Linked DNA regions of Homo sapiens: region 1 is linked to region 2. The links are contacts of gene promoters, found by promoter capture Hi-C in blood cells and fetal thymus (Javierre and others, 2016). All regions are on one chromosome and are shown on one strand. The core of a region is centred on a gene start or on the middle of the fragment in contact, and the rest is flanking DNA. Distances in the headings are between cores, read along the strand shown. Region 1 overlaps AGPS (alkylglycerone phosphate synthase). Region 2 holds the start of HOXD9 (homeobox D9).

Evidence for each region. Contacts are between HindIII fragments. The CHiCAGO score rates a contact against its expected background, and 5 or more counts as called.
Region 1: a fragment that was not itself captured here is called in contact with the fragment with the promoter of HOXD9 in region 2 in 1 of 17 cell types (activated CD4 T cells); the score reaches 5.1 in activated CD4 T cells.

The regions. Positions count from the first base shown.
Region 1 is chr2:177,409,845-177,416,670 of GRCh38, reverse strand. The region is part of intron 1 of AGPS (alkylglycerone phosphate synthase); the gene reads right to left. Among named protein-coding and RNA genes, the nearest start is that of AGPS, 20 kb to the right of the region's middle. RefSeq lists a silencer at 5,472-5,637. The HindIII fragment of the contact is 1,575 bases long and covers 1,319-2,893 here.
Region 2 is chr2:176,117,099-176,124,527 of GRCh38, reverse strand. HOXD9 (homeobox D9) reads right to left here and starts at 1,809. Exons shown (of 2, transcript NM_014213.4): 1 at 943-1,809; 2 at 1-594. The coding sequence starts at 1,759. The coding sequence ends at 353. It overlaps HOXD10 (homeobox D10), which reads right to left. Exons shown (of 2, transcript NM_002148.4): 1 at 6,950-7,429; 2 at 4,591-5,574. The coding sequence ends at 5,297. The HindIII fragment of the contact is 6,351 bases long and covers 1-4,222 here.

The DNA.
Region 1 (6,826 bases), core at 857-3,356, 1.3 Mb before region 2:
GCCTGTAGTCCCAGGTGCTCAGGAGGCTGAGGCAGGAGAATCGCTTGAACCTGGGAGGCGGAGGTGGCAGTGAGCCGAGATCACACCACTGCACTCCAGGCTGGGTGACAGAACAAGACTCCGTCTCAAAAAAACAAAACAAAACAAAAAAAAACCCTCCTCCTGCCGAAAGAATAGTTGGCTTGATTTTACTGCATAAAAAAATAAATGTTTTACACATTTACACATCTAACCACAGTACCAAACTGAAAAAGCAAGTATTAGCTGGTGTAACAAAAGAAAATGGAGGCATAAAATAGCATCCTATATGCACAAGGTGGCAGTATTCTCCCATGATATGTACATGATGTACATATTCAGCATTTTGCATTTTTCAGGGCTGTTATTATACAATCTTTAGGTGAAATATTTAGATTTAGCCTTACTATTATAAAAACCATAAAGAGTTTCTTTATTCTTAAAATGGGAAATTTTCACTTTGAAGTCTCTGTTTACAGACTGGTTGTCACACTACTATTCCTCTACTAGTAATAAACTGCAAACATCCTGATATATATGCATGGTTTCTACATTGCTATTTCTAATCATAATAGTCATAATATTTTTCACTAGAAAATAAGGAAAAGGAAAAAATGATTTTGGCTACTTTCATTCTGGGTTAACAACTGTAAAAGTTCAGCTATCTAATAACTTTTATAAAAGTTTTTCTGATAAAATTCCAATAATCAAAATTCTAATAAAAGATGCTTCACTCTTCAGATCAATATTTCCTCTTGCCCTGATATAAAACTCACAAAGCTACCTTCATCTGATAATATTGTGATTTCCTAGAGAGAAAAAAAAAAGGACAACTGAAATGGCCAAAAGGATCTACAGTTTTACTTTTCATCATGAATTAGTTTATTGGCTTGTTAATTAACTTTGGTAACTGGTGAGGGCAGTCAGACTATCTAAATGTAATCAACTTGAGGACTCTGATAAGATCATGTTTCTAGATGGGTCAACAAGGTATAATCTGTGTCCTCTAGACAGTGAGCCTTCTTGAACATTATCATGCAACACTTTAAACTTCAACAAGAATTTCAATCTTCCCTCAATATCCCCATTGTAAGTTTCTCAGCTCTAGTTGCCAGAATAAAAATGTGACCCTGTGATATAATAAGTTATTAATCAATGTGATAATTCTTAGCAGTGTGATAATGCAAAGTGGCTTAAATATGAGATTTGAGAACACAGAAAGTTGTTAACAAGAACATGAAGAAAAGGAATCCACATGCATACTGGTAAGCCACTCCACAGAGCAATCATGTAGTAAGCTTTCATAGGTAATGCCAATTCTATGACCCAACTATACAACTCCTGGGTATATATTGCATAGGAAATTCATATACAATTCCATAAGGGAACACATTTGATATATTCCCTGGAGCATTGTTTGTAAGAGTAGCTGGAGGCATCACTAGAGAAGCAGGTAAGTAATGTGGAAAATGCATTCCATGAAATATTAATGCAGCAATCAAAAGCAGTAAGTTGAATAGATATGCATATAGAAACACGATGAAATGTTTAAAACAGTGGTAAACACAAAGGAGAAACAATAAAATCCATAGTAAAACAGCATTTAAGGGAATTAAAAATATACACACTAAATAACACTGCATATTTCACAAAACACAAAATATTATATATAATATATCCAGATATATTATTTATAATGCATTCATCATATATGTATATTATATACATTATACACACACACACACACACACACACGAACCTTCATAGGCACCCATGGGATAGGCAGATGAAATTAGTAATCAGAGATGGAGGAAAATTAGAGGCCTCACACAAATACCATACATTAAAAATGTATGTTACCACAACTCTCTGAACCTGAGGCAAATACGCTGCTCAGCCTTTGAATCTCAGTGCAGTTTCTCTCTGTTCTGAGAAAATAATTCTTTCTTCCATATATACACAGAACTTTCATGATGGTTTATTATAAAATCTATTGGGCTTCTTAGCAATAGCTACAAATTTTTTTGAATGATAGAATTCCATTATGAATTAAACAGCTTCAACTATATGGTAAACCAAATATACATTTAACTACCTACAGTCAACTTTTTATAGTCCACAAGAAACTAGCACTCTAAAAAACTTTTTAAGGCCAAGCACAATGACCTGTAATCCCACCACTTTGGGAGGCCAAGGTGGGAGGATAACTTGAGCCTTGAAGTTCAAAATAAGCCTGAGCAATACAGCGGGACCCCTAATTCTCAAAAATAAAATAAAATAAAAGCCAGGTGTGGTGGTGCAAGCCTGTAATCCCAGCTACTACAAGGCCAAGGCAGAAGGATCCCTTGAGCTCAAGAGTTCAAGGTTGCAGTGAGCCATGATTGCCACTGCACTCCAGCCTGGGTGACAGAGTGAGGTCCTGTCTCAAAAAAAAGAAAAGAAAGAAACCTTTTAAAACTTGAATTCAAGGCTCAAAAACTGCGTCCCAAAGGTCCAATTCCTACTACATTTATCATGAATAAATGAGTGAAAGAAAAAGTAATATACAGGTATAAAGGGGAAAAATTCTAAACAGAGGCACAGGAAAGGGGCGGGGGGCAAGAAGGGCAAATAAGGCAAGACCAGCTTTACCTCACATTGACAGAATACTCTGGGCAGTCACTAATCACTTCAGGTTCTTGGGGTGCCATTCTTTACTCCCACACTTCTCTCACACACTACACCATAATCTACCAATTAGAAACTTGTTACTGTTTGAATGACGCATTTGAAAATGGAAATACACACTATTAGTCATTCATACATTTAGTAGTGTATGTTACAAATATTTTGTGGTAAGGGCAGGTGTGTACCCACATATCCACTCACACAAGCTTGGTACCTGCCATTCTGGAAGCCTGGAAAGAAACAACCATCCTACCCTTTACCCTCAGGTGTTGATCTACGTAATGAGGAAAACAATCCAAATCTGCATCAGGAGGTTGTCATAGCAAAGGACAAAGAGAAAAGGATATATCCTTCACTTGGACTCTTGTGTTCCCTGGACTGTACTTTAAATTTCATGGTTTTTCCCTTCATTGTCCACTTGTAATCTACCCAATATGGCAATTTTGGCAACCAACCCCAGACTGTCTCTACCACCAACTGGGAAAATGCCAATTCACTTTCATTGCTCACTCCATGCTTGTTAGTAATTAAAAAAGGAATTGTATCACAAGCTTATTATACTGACCAATCCATAAGTGACCAAAGCCATTTCTGGTAGAGCCTTGCATTTCTGTAGAAACTACAAAACTGAACACAGACAAAGAAAATACAAATGTCTCCAAAAATCTATATGCCATTTTAGCATTGAAACCAAGCCTAAGTTCCCTTCCCCTGCTGTCCTTTGGGGACAGACCAACAATACCCTTGGCATGACCCTAAAAATACCAAGACTGAAATCCATACCGGCTTAATGTACACAGTATTCTTGTTGTAAACCGTAATTGTTGGGCAACCCCCTTTGGGTTCCCTCCCATTGTATGGGAGCTCCGTTTTCACTCTATTAAATCTTGCAACTGCATACTCTTCTGGTCTGTGTTTGTTATGGCTCCAGCTGTGCTTTCACTTGCCATCCACCACTGTTGTTTGCCGCCATCGCAGACCCGCCGCTGATGCTGACTTCCACCCCTCCAGATCCAGCAGGGTGTCCACTGTGCTCCTGATCCAGCGAGGCACCCATTGCCACTCCCGATCGGGCTAAAGGCTTGCCATTGTTCCTGCACAGCTAAGTGCCCAAGTTCATCCTAATCAAGCTGAACACTAGTCGCTGGGTTCCACGGTTCTGTTCCATGACCCATGGCTTCTAATAGAGCTATAACACTCACCACATGGCCCAAGATTCCATTCCTTGGAATCCGTGAGGCCAAGAACCCCAGGTCAGAGAACAAGAGGCTTGCTGCCATCTTGGAAGTGGCCGCCAACATCTTGGGAGCTCTAGGAGCAAGGACACCCTGGTAACATTTTGGCAACCACGAAGGGACTCTCCAAAGCGGTGAGTAATATTGGACTACTTTCGCTTGCTATCCTTCCTTAGAATCAGAGGAAAATACAGGGTGCTTGTCGGCCAGTTAAAAAAACGATTAGCGTGGCTGCCAGACTTAAGACTCAGATGTGAGGCTATCTGGGAAAAGGCTTTCTAACAACCCCCAAACCTTCTGGGTTGGGAGCATTGATCTGCCTGGAACCAGCTTGCGCTTTCAATTTTCCTGGGGAAGCCAAGGGCCAACTAGAGGCAGAAAGCTGTCGTCCCGAACTCCCAGCATTAGCCGGTTGACATCATGGTACAGCCAGAAGTCTCTACTCAACAGTCACCCATGCGTGCACCCCACCTTTCCTTCTGACCCATACCTCCTGGGTCCTGACCATGACTTTCTTGAAAGTGTAGCCCCAAAATTCTCCTTACCTCTGAATCTACTTCCTCTGATCCCTGCCTCCTAGATACTAATGGTTCAGACTTTCATTTCCTTTCCCACGTATTGGAGCAAGTTGTATCTCCAAAGGGATCTAATGAAGCTCTATGCTGTGTCCTTAGGCATCTAGGCTATCAACCCAGTGAGTCTTGTCCCTCGTGTCCCTCCCAATTTAGCCACACAGCTCTCGACCGTTATGTGGGACCTGTTCCCCACCAACTTGCCAGGGCCCCAAGTTTGTAAATGGCTAGGAGGACTGCTCTCCCATTGTGTAAGATGCTCTCCTCCCCCGATTTCTACCCAGCTTATCCCTCTGCAATACAATCTCCAAGCCTTGGCTCCTTGGCCAGGGCCTTAGAACTGATGACCCAGTACTATGGGTCTACAACAACATAATAGAACAGGATAAAAGCAAATTGAGTAAGTCAAGGAGAGGAAAGACAGACAGAGAGAGAGAGACAAATTAAAATAGACCTAGGTAAATTATCAGATAACCCTGATGGCTATATTGATGTTTTACAAGGGTTAGGACAATCCTTTGATCTGACATGGAAAAATATAATGTTACTGCTAGATCAGACACTAACCCCAAATGAGAAAAGTGCTGCCATAACTGCAACCTGAGAGTTTGGCGATCTCTGGTATCTCAGTCAGGTCAATGATAGGATGACAACAGAGGAAAGAACAATTCCCCACAGGCCAGCAGGCAGTTCCCAGTGTAGACCCTCACTGGGATGCAGAATCAGAACATGGAGATTGGTGCTGCAGACATTTACTAACTTGCGTGCTAGAAGGACTAAGGAAAACTAGGAAGAAGCCTATAAATTATTCAGTGTTGTCCACTATAACACAGGGAAAGAAAGAAAATCCTACCACGTTTCTGGAGAGACTAAGGGAGGCACTGAGGAAGCATAGCTCTCTGTCAACTGACTCTATTGAAGGCCAACTAATCTTAAAGGGTAAGTTTATTATTCAGTCAGTTGCAGACATTAGAAAAAATTCAAAAGTCCGCCTTAGGCCTGCAGCAAAACTTAGAAACCCTACTGAACTTGGCAACCTCAGTTTTTTTATAATAGAGATCAGAAAGAGCAGGCAGAAAGGGACAAACAAGTTAAGAAAAAGGTCACCGCTTTAGTCATGGCCCTCAGGTAAGCGGACTTTGAGGCTCTGGAACACCGAAAGGCTGGGCAAGTTGAATGCCTAATAGGGCTTGCTTCCAGTGCGGCCTACAAGGACACTTTAAAAAAGATTGTCCGAATAGAAATAAGCTACCCCCTCGTCCATGCCCCTTATGTCAAGGGAATCACTGGAAGGCCCACTGCCCCAGGGGATGAAGGATCTCTGAGTCAGAAGCCACTAACCAGATGATCCAGCAGCAGGACTGAGGGTGCCTGGGGTAAGCGCCAGCCCATGCCGTCACCCTCACAGAGCCCCGGGTATGCTTGACCATTGAGGGCCAGGAGGTTAACTGTCTCCTGGACACTGGTGTGGCCTTCTCAGTCTTACTCTCCCTGTCCCGGACAACTGTCCTCCAGATCTGTCATTATCTGAGGGGTCCTAAGACAGGCAGTCACTAAATACTTCTCCCAGCCACTAAGTTGTGACTGGGGAACTTTACTCTTTTCACATGGCTTTCTAATTATGCTTGAAAGCCCCACTCCTTTGTTAGGGAGAGACATTCTAGCAAAAGGAGGGGCCATTATACACTAGAATTAGGAGAAGGAAAAAGGGTAAATATATACACAGACTCTAGGCATGCTTACCTAGTCCTCCATGCCCACGCAGCAATATGGAGAGAAAGGGAATTCCTAACTTCCGAGGGAACACCTATCAAACATCAGGAAGCCTTTAGGAGATTACTACTGGCTGTACAGAAACCTCAAGAGGTGGCAGTCTTATGCTGCCAGGGTCATCAGAAAGGAAACGAAAGGGAAATAGAAGTGAACTGCCAAGCGGATATTGAAGCCAAAAGAGCCGCAAGGCAGGACCCTCCATTAGAAATGCTTACAGAAGGACCCCTAGTATGGGGTAATCCCCTCCGGGAAACCAAGCTGCAGTACTCGGCAGGAGAAACAGAATGGGGACCCTCATGAGGACAAGTTTCCTCCCCTCAGGATGGCTAGCCACTGAAGAAGGAAAAATACTTTTGCCTGCAGCTAACCAATGGAAATTACTTAAAACCCTTCACCAAACCTTTCATTTAGGCATTGATAGCACCCATCAGATGGCTAAATCATTATTTACTGGACCAGGCCTTTTAAAAACTATCAAGCAGATAGTCAGGGCCTGTGAAGTGTGCCAAAGAAATAATCCCCTGCACTGCAGGCCATACGTTTCAATCCCTGTATCTTTAA
Region 2 (7,429 bases), core at 560-3,059:
TTTCAGAAACATGGGGGACATTTACACAAGAGAGGGCTCCCCAAGCCAGCTTGCACTCACAAAATATAGCATTTCTTAAGGAACCAATGGAGCAGGAAAGAGAGGGAGTGGGATAGGGCGAAACCCCAAAGCCACTTGGTTTTTCCAACACGTAAACGAGCAAATACAGAGTCCCCCAAATACCTCAGAGACCAACCACACAGTCACTTCTATCTAAAAAGAAAAAAAAAAAGAAGAAGAAGTCCAAGTCGCTGGAGAGTTTCTGGAAATCAAGCACCAAACACCCACAAAGGAAAACAGCAACAACAACAAATCCGCTGCCCTTGAGCGCTCCCGCCAGCACCGCGCCGGGTCAGTCTCCTTTGGGGCATTTCTCCTTGCTCATCTTTTTCATTTTCATCCTACGGTTCTGAAACCAGATTTTGACCTGTCTCTCTGTTAGGTTGAGAATCCTGGCCACCTCGTAGCGCCGGTCCCGGGTGAGGTACATGTTGAAGAGGAATTCTTTCTCCAGCTCAAGCGTCTGGTATTTGGTGTAGGGACAGCGCTTTTTCCGGGTGGAGCGAGCGTGGATCCAGTTCGCGGCGGGGTTGTCTACAAAGAGGGAGGTTTGGAGACGGGGAGAGAGGAGAGGAGGGGAGGCAGGGAGAGACCACAGGGTGGGGAAGAGAGGTCGTTAAATTAATTTCACCAAGGATGGTCGCTTTTCACAACTTGTGGGGAATTATCATAAAAAGCCTTAATGCTCGCGCTCTGTTTACCGTACTAACTGAGCGCCCAGGGTAGGTGGTTATGGGAAGCTCTTTTTATGGATGCATGTTGTTCGCCTAGGCTTGGGTAGGCGTCTAGACGTTTTTATAGGTTAGTAAAACTATCAGTTTTGCACATTCGAGCCTTACAGGTTTCAGCAATAAATCAGGGGGCAATTTCTTTTGCACTTACTTGGGTCAAGTTGCTGCTGCTGCGGCTGCGAATGCTGCTTCTCCTCCTCCTTCAGCGAACAGCCTGGGATCGGGTGGTCGCTGCAAGCTGAGGGCTCCGACGAGCCGCCCGTCCCAGTCGCGGCCCCGATCCCTGCCCCAGGCCCGGTTCCCCCCGTCGCCGCTGCCGCCTTCTCCTGCAGGAACGAGTTGCACGAGAACTCGGGGCCGCTGCTCCCCTGGGACTCCCGGGCCACGGAGCACTCAGTCCGTTTGGAGGAGGAGGATAAGGAAGTGGAGGAGGAGGAGGTGGTGGAGGCGGCCGTGGCGGGGGCCGGGGCCGCTCGGGTTTCAGGCTTAATCCCGTAGTGGCGCCCGTTGGCTGGGCCGCTGGGGCCAGGGCTGGGACCGCGGCCCGGACCGCCGCCTCCACCACCACCGCCACCGCCCGCACCGCCCGGGAAGCCGGGCAGCGGCTCCATCCAGGAGCGCACGTAGCGGCCGGGCTCGGAGGCAGAGGCGGCCAGGGGCGGCGGGGGAACGTACGGGTGGTAGAGGCCGCTCATCGCCGCCGCTGCCGGGGGCTGGGAGGGCACCGCGGACCACGAGGCAGAGAACACGGCCGATCTGGGGGCAAAACTACACGAGGCGAACTCGGCGGCGGTGGCGGCCGGGCCATCAGCCACACCTGCAGGCCGGCCCTGCGCGCCTGGCCCCGGCGGCCCGAAGCGCGCCGCGAACACCTCGTCGCCCTCATGGCCTATAAGCGAGTCCACGTAGTAGTTGCTGAGGGTGCCACTGGAAGACATTTTGAGGCGTCCCGCACTCCCACCCAACATTACACTGTCCGCCGCCGAGCAGCTCCCCGCCGGCGCCCGAGCCACCGACTAGTTCGCAGGCTGCAGCCTCCACCATTGGTCGCGCGGCCCACGTGATCATATTTACCAATACCGGGAGTAAATCAGTCCGCTAAACTGGGGGCTGCTGTGATTAAAAAAAAAATCATCAACATAAGCGCCGCAATTAGAGCCCGCAGGCCCAGGTCCATGTGCCCGGCTCGGCCCGGCCCGACCTGGCCTGGCCCGCCCAGCGGCTGCCAGGACCACAGACGCGACCGCATCCAGAGGAGGCGCTGGGGACTATTTGTTCGCTTCTTCTTGCAGCCCTCGGTCCCGCAGTCGGGCCCCGTCGCTGACTCTCCAGCTTCCGAGCCGCGGGCGGCGAGTCCAGGGCACACGGAGCGGCCGCGGGGGCGCCAGGCCGGTGTCGCCCGAGGCAGGCGGGCCCTCGGGGCGGCCCCTAGCGCCCGAGGGGAGCTGTTCTCCCCTCGCCTCTCTCCCTACTCACACCCACCCCTCCCCACACATCCCCACACACACGCTTGCTCACAGCTTGTCGTGTTGTTTAAAACAGGTGGAAGACCTCTGTAATGATATTATGCCTTTCAATAAAAATTTTATGAGGTGTATTTGATTATAGATTAATGTGTCCCTAATAAAACGGACGGATGGAGCAGATCGGAGGGCCCCCTCCCCCTGCCACACTCACACACGCCCGCGCGGCCACACACACCCCGACGTGAGGCTGGGCACACGCCGCGGCCCGAGGGGCGAGCCGGGGCGCGGCGGTGGAGGACACAGAGGGGCTTCTGCCTGCCCTCGGAAGGGCGGGCGGCCGGGCGAGTTGGCGCAGCACGGACAGTGGCGGCCAGGGTGCTTCGTCTTCTCCGATGATGCTGGAAAGGCCCTGGAAGAGAACACGCCACAGGGCAGAACCCAAATGCTAGAGCAGCTTGCTCCCGCCCGCCGCCTCAGCCCTGCCTCAGCGAGTCTCCCCGGGCAGGGCCGCTTCGCGCGGTTCGCACTTAAAGGCCTCGGAGGAGACTCCCAAAATGTCTAAAAAATTCGGCCGAATGGCTAGGTCCTTGGGACACTCCCTTCTGATTTTTTTCCCCCTACAGAGGTGAGGTTGAGCAGCCTTGAATCTGAGGGAAATGCCCATTGTCACTCCCAAATCCATGGTACAAAGCCTCGGAAGCCCGGCTGGGAGCCCAGACAAAAGCGGCCGGGGCGCCGGCAGCGGAGGGCATATTCCTTGCTCTACAAGTTGCCCAGCTCACCCTTGGAGGGCTCCCGGCCCACCTCCAGCCCCGAAAAGGAAGCGGGTAAATGGCTATTTATGGCCTGATTGATTACCTTTGCCAATAGCTTTCTGATTTTGTTCCAGATGGGATGCCTTTGCCTTGTAGCTCAGGCTTTCCTCGGATACATGGCCCGCTATCAACAGCTAATGGTATTCCCCACATGATCGGAGAAACGGCTAAATAAAAATTACCCTCCTCCTGCCCAACCGGTGTTAAGTCTGGGGCAAAGCTATTACAACGTTTTCAATCTAGCATTGATTCCAAGCCCTCTCCCCCACCCCCAGGAAATGGCCCCCTAAAAGAGTTCTGTCTTGGAATGTTCCTGGTTTTGGGGCGGAAGTTTAAAATTTTGAATGCCAGTGTCCCAGAGACTCCCTGGCTGAGGACTTATAGCACCTAAATGGATCGTTCTTAGGGAAACATTTAAAAGGAAGAAATGGAAAGGATGTGTTTTGTAAAACTGCTGGAAGCTATTTGAAACTGCAGGCAGGACCTCAGGTAACGAATTTTCTGTTAGCTTTCTCCTGCAAGGCCTCTTCTCCCTTTTCCCCGACAGGACTAGATAAGTCTGGGCTCTCTAGTGGAGATCCTGTTGAAGCCGGTGGAAGCTGGTGGGAGTCCCCTGGACCATGGCAGCGAATGGAACATTAGACTTCATGGGAAGTCATGTTCATTTGCAAAATTTTCAGTCACCCTTTCTGCATTTTCTTGCATCCCAGATGCAGCAGTTCCCACCAGCATTTTGTAATTAAATAGAGGAAAGACTGACTGGGGAAAATCTTTTCATTTCTTCCTTTAACAAAATTTCATGTGGGCCACTAAAAGGTAATGACTGAGCATAAAACCCGTCCACAAGGAGATCAAGGCGAAGTGGGATGGGAAAACTCACCCATCCTCGGCTTCTCTGGGGTCTGGCTGTCTTGCGCTTGGGATGGGGGTAGGGCTGAGGGAAAGGGGGCAGAATTGGATCCGCTGCAGTGCTACACTGCTGTTTGTCCTTGCTCCTGTAATGGAGGCCGGCAACTTCCAGGTGGGCAAGACTAGCTTCAACCTAGCCCCTGATGATTGCTCGCCAGCCAGAAATCACCAAGATGCCACTGAAAGCATTAAAAACAACACAACCAAAACCAAAGAGGAGAAAACACACAAATGGGAAGCTTTGAGGAGAAAGTGGCTTGGGGTATAGGCTTACTTACCAGGTTCAGGCCAGAGGAAAGCTCACACCCATTGAGAGCGCAATTATGTTACTATCACTGGGGACTGGGAAAGGAAAGAGGAGACTCCCCTTCCTCCCAATTATGAAAACTTCACTCTCAAGCTAGCTTATAATTCCTCTCCCCCAACCACTGCCAAAATCCAACACCCTAGGCCTCCTCCAGCTTTTCTCCCCCATCTCCCTTCCCCTACTAGTCTATCACTCCCCTGCCCAAATGCCCCAAACAGGGAGTGTAACCAGAAGATAATCTCACCATAGGCTTTCATTTCCACCATAACATATTTCCATTTCAGAAAGCAGAGGGAGTGAACTCATTTCCAGAGTTTATTGCATTATACATGCGACCAGAACATGCACAGAAAGGACAGGTTGCTGTTGTACTTCTACCAAACCACAGATGCACCACAAGGGAAAGGCTACAAGGCATAAATCGCCAATATCCCATCTCACCAAGGACAACTGCTAAATTCATTTGTGAAAAGATACATTGTAATGTGCTTTTTAAGTCCCCCTCCCTCCAACTTGTGGGTTTTCTTAATCTTTTTTTTTTAAATATATATGTCATTTTTAAAGTACTGGATGTATTCAAAATGCCATGAGTTCATGGACTAACCACACACATAGACCTTTTGTGTTAGGAAAGACATGAAAAAGTCACATTGCTGGATGGATGGATGGATGGATGCTCTACAGTTCCAATAAGTTAAGACCCAAATGAAAATGCGCAATAATAGTTACCCTGCATTACGATGAAAAAATAATAAATTACACGTGCTAAGTTTTTATATATATATATATATATATATATATATACTCATAGGGATTACAGATCACTTGCAGCACGAACATAATGACCCCAAAGTCACATTCTAGCAGGAAAACAAAATACAACAAAACAACAAACAAAGAGCGGTGAAGGTTTTGTTTCCGCTTTCCCAGTCCTCCAGCACTGGGCCCTGGAACGCGGTGCCCCCTCTCCAATCCTGGCCTCTGACCGGCCTCAGACCGGCCTCAGACCTAAGAAAACGTGAGGTTGGCGGTCAGTTCTCGGATCCGGTTCTCTCGGCTCATCTTCTTGAGTTTCATTCGGCGGTTTTGAAACCAAATCTTGACCTGCCTGTCGGTGAGGTTAACGCTCTTACTGATCTCTAGGCGGCGCTCGCGGGTGAGGTACATATTGAACAAGAACTCTTTTTCTAATTCCAGCGTTTGGTGCTTAGTGTAAGGGCACCTCTTCTTTCTGCCACTCTTTGCAGTGAGCCAATTGCTGGTTGGTGTATCAGACTTGATTTCCTCTAACAAAATTAAAGGGAGAAGAAGAAAAAAATCAAGAGGTTTTTTGTTTGTTTGTTTTTGTTTTTGTTTTTGTTTTGGTTTTGGTTTTGGTTTTCGTTTTTGTTTTTTTCTTCAGACTGTTCAAATGTACCCTTGGCCGTGACCCTGCTGGCAGCCAGGCCGCTTTGGAAAATGCTAGTATTAAACATTACTCACATGAAGTGGGCCTTGGAAGGGAATCTTACATTGATGCCACATTACTTAAATGACATGATGGCAGGACAGTCTGCATTTGGGTTCTCGCTCTCTCTTTCAACTTTCTCACTTGTACAAAACATTAGTAGAATAGTAAACTTTCCAGATCTCCCCAGCAACATTCTAAGGGTTCAGCTCCTAACAGGGACGGAGGGGAATACGCCACGACCTGGACAAGCCTACCAACCCCACTGCTGCCTCAGGTCCCCAAATCTGCCACTTCTTCCCCACCTCTCCTAGGCAGTCAGGAATCCTGACAGTCAGGTTTATAGGTGCCCATTCTCTTTCAAAAGATAAATGGGGAAGCGAGACACCTTCCCCCACCTTGCCTGGGTATTGTTGCATTCCCCAGAATTTCCTTAATTTTCATGTCTTCTTGCCCCCACACTAAAGCATTCCCCCAGAAAGGGAGCCCCCTACTGTGGCCCACCTCTAAGCACTGGGGGAGAGGAGGAGGGTTCCTTCTCAAAAAGCCAGATCCCTGGCTCTTTGCCTTAGCCCAGCCCTAAGGCTGGCCTTGCAGGGAGGGCAATGCGGGTTCCACTCTCCCCCTCCGCCTTTGCCCTCTTTGCCGACGGATTGCAAAGACTGCAGCACTTTTCCTAAACAAAGCCAAGGTTACCTAGCCCAGCAAAGGCAGTAAGCCCTGTTTCCCAACTCAAGCACCAACCAGCCCAGCCATCTCTTTCCCCTCACCACCCCCAAGCTCGCAGGATGCGGGGTGCATACACTTGAACACGAACACGGTGCCCTGGATCACCTTAACATGATCATTGGGCTCAAGGCAAAACTGGAACTGCAAATCTGAGCAGGAGAAAAGAGGCTCTGTGGTCGTGTTTATGAGCCGCAGGTCTCCTTTGCGCTCTTTTGTTGTGTTCAGGTCTAGCTCAGGAAAAATAAAACCGGCAAGCTTTTCCTCTGCCCGGGCGCCATCAGCGTGGGGCCAGGACTGGCGGAGAGGGCCAGGGCAGCAGGGGAGAAGCGGGGACTATCTCAGGGCTGAGATCACCCCTCTAAAACCAGGCGGAGCAGCACCTGCCAAGTCGGGCTCCGGCTCGGCGCTGGGCACCCCGGCACTCCCTCTCTGCCGGGTTCCCGGGCTGCGCGCCCCGCTGGGGTGGCAACTCTGCTCATACCGACCTTTGCTTTCCTTCTCCTGCACTTCGGGACTGGACACGGAGACCTCAGCCAGGCAGCTCCTCTCTTCGGGAAGGCCGCCTTTGGCCTCGGGGCTCTCCACCTGGGAGACTTTGGTGGGCTCCTGGCCGCTCACGGGCTCGTTCATCTTCTTTTCCATCTGCAGCTGGGCAGCGGAGAGCTGCGGCTTGGCCGCGCCACGAGGGTTGAGCTGGAGCATGACAGTGGAGCTGCCTTCGGGGCTATTATTGTACTCTTGGGTTTTCCCGGTGGCGTAGGTCTGACTCAGTCTAAAATATCCAGGGACGGGAACCTCAGGGTTCTCAACGGGACAAGACTCAGGGACCAGCCTCTGGTACGAAGGGACCTCGGCCGAAATGAGTTTGTTGCGCTTATCAGAATACATGCAGCAATTGGATTCTTCCTTAATGTTGGTGGTGAAGGAGCAAGTGGGGACTTGCTGTGTAACAGGTTGCTCTATTC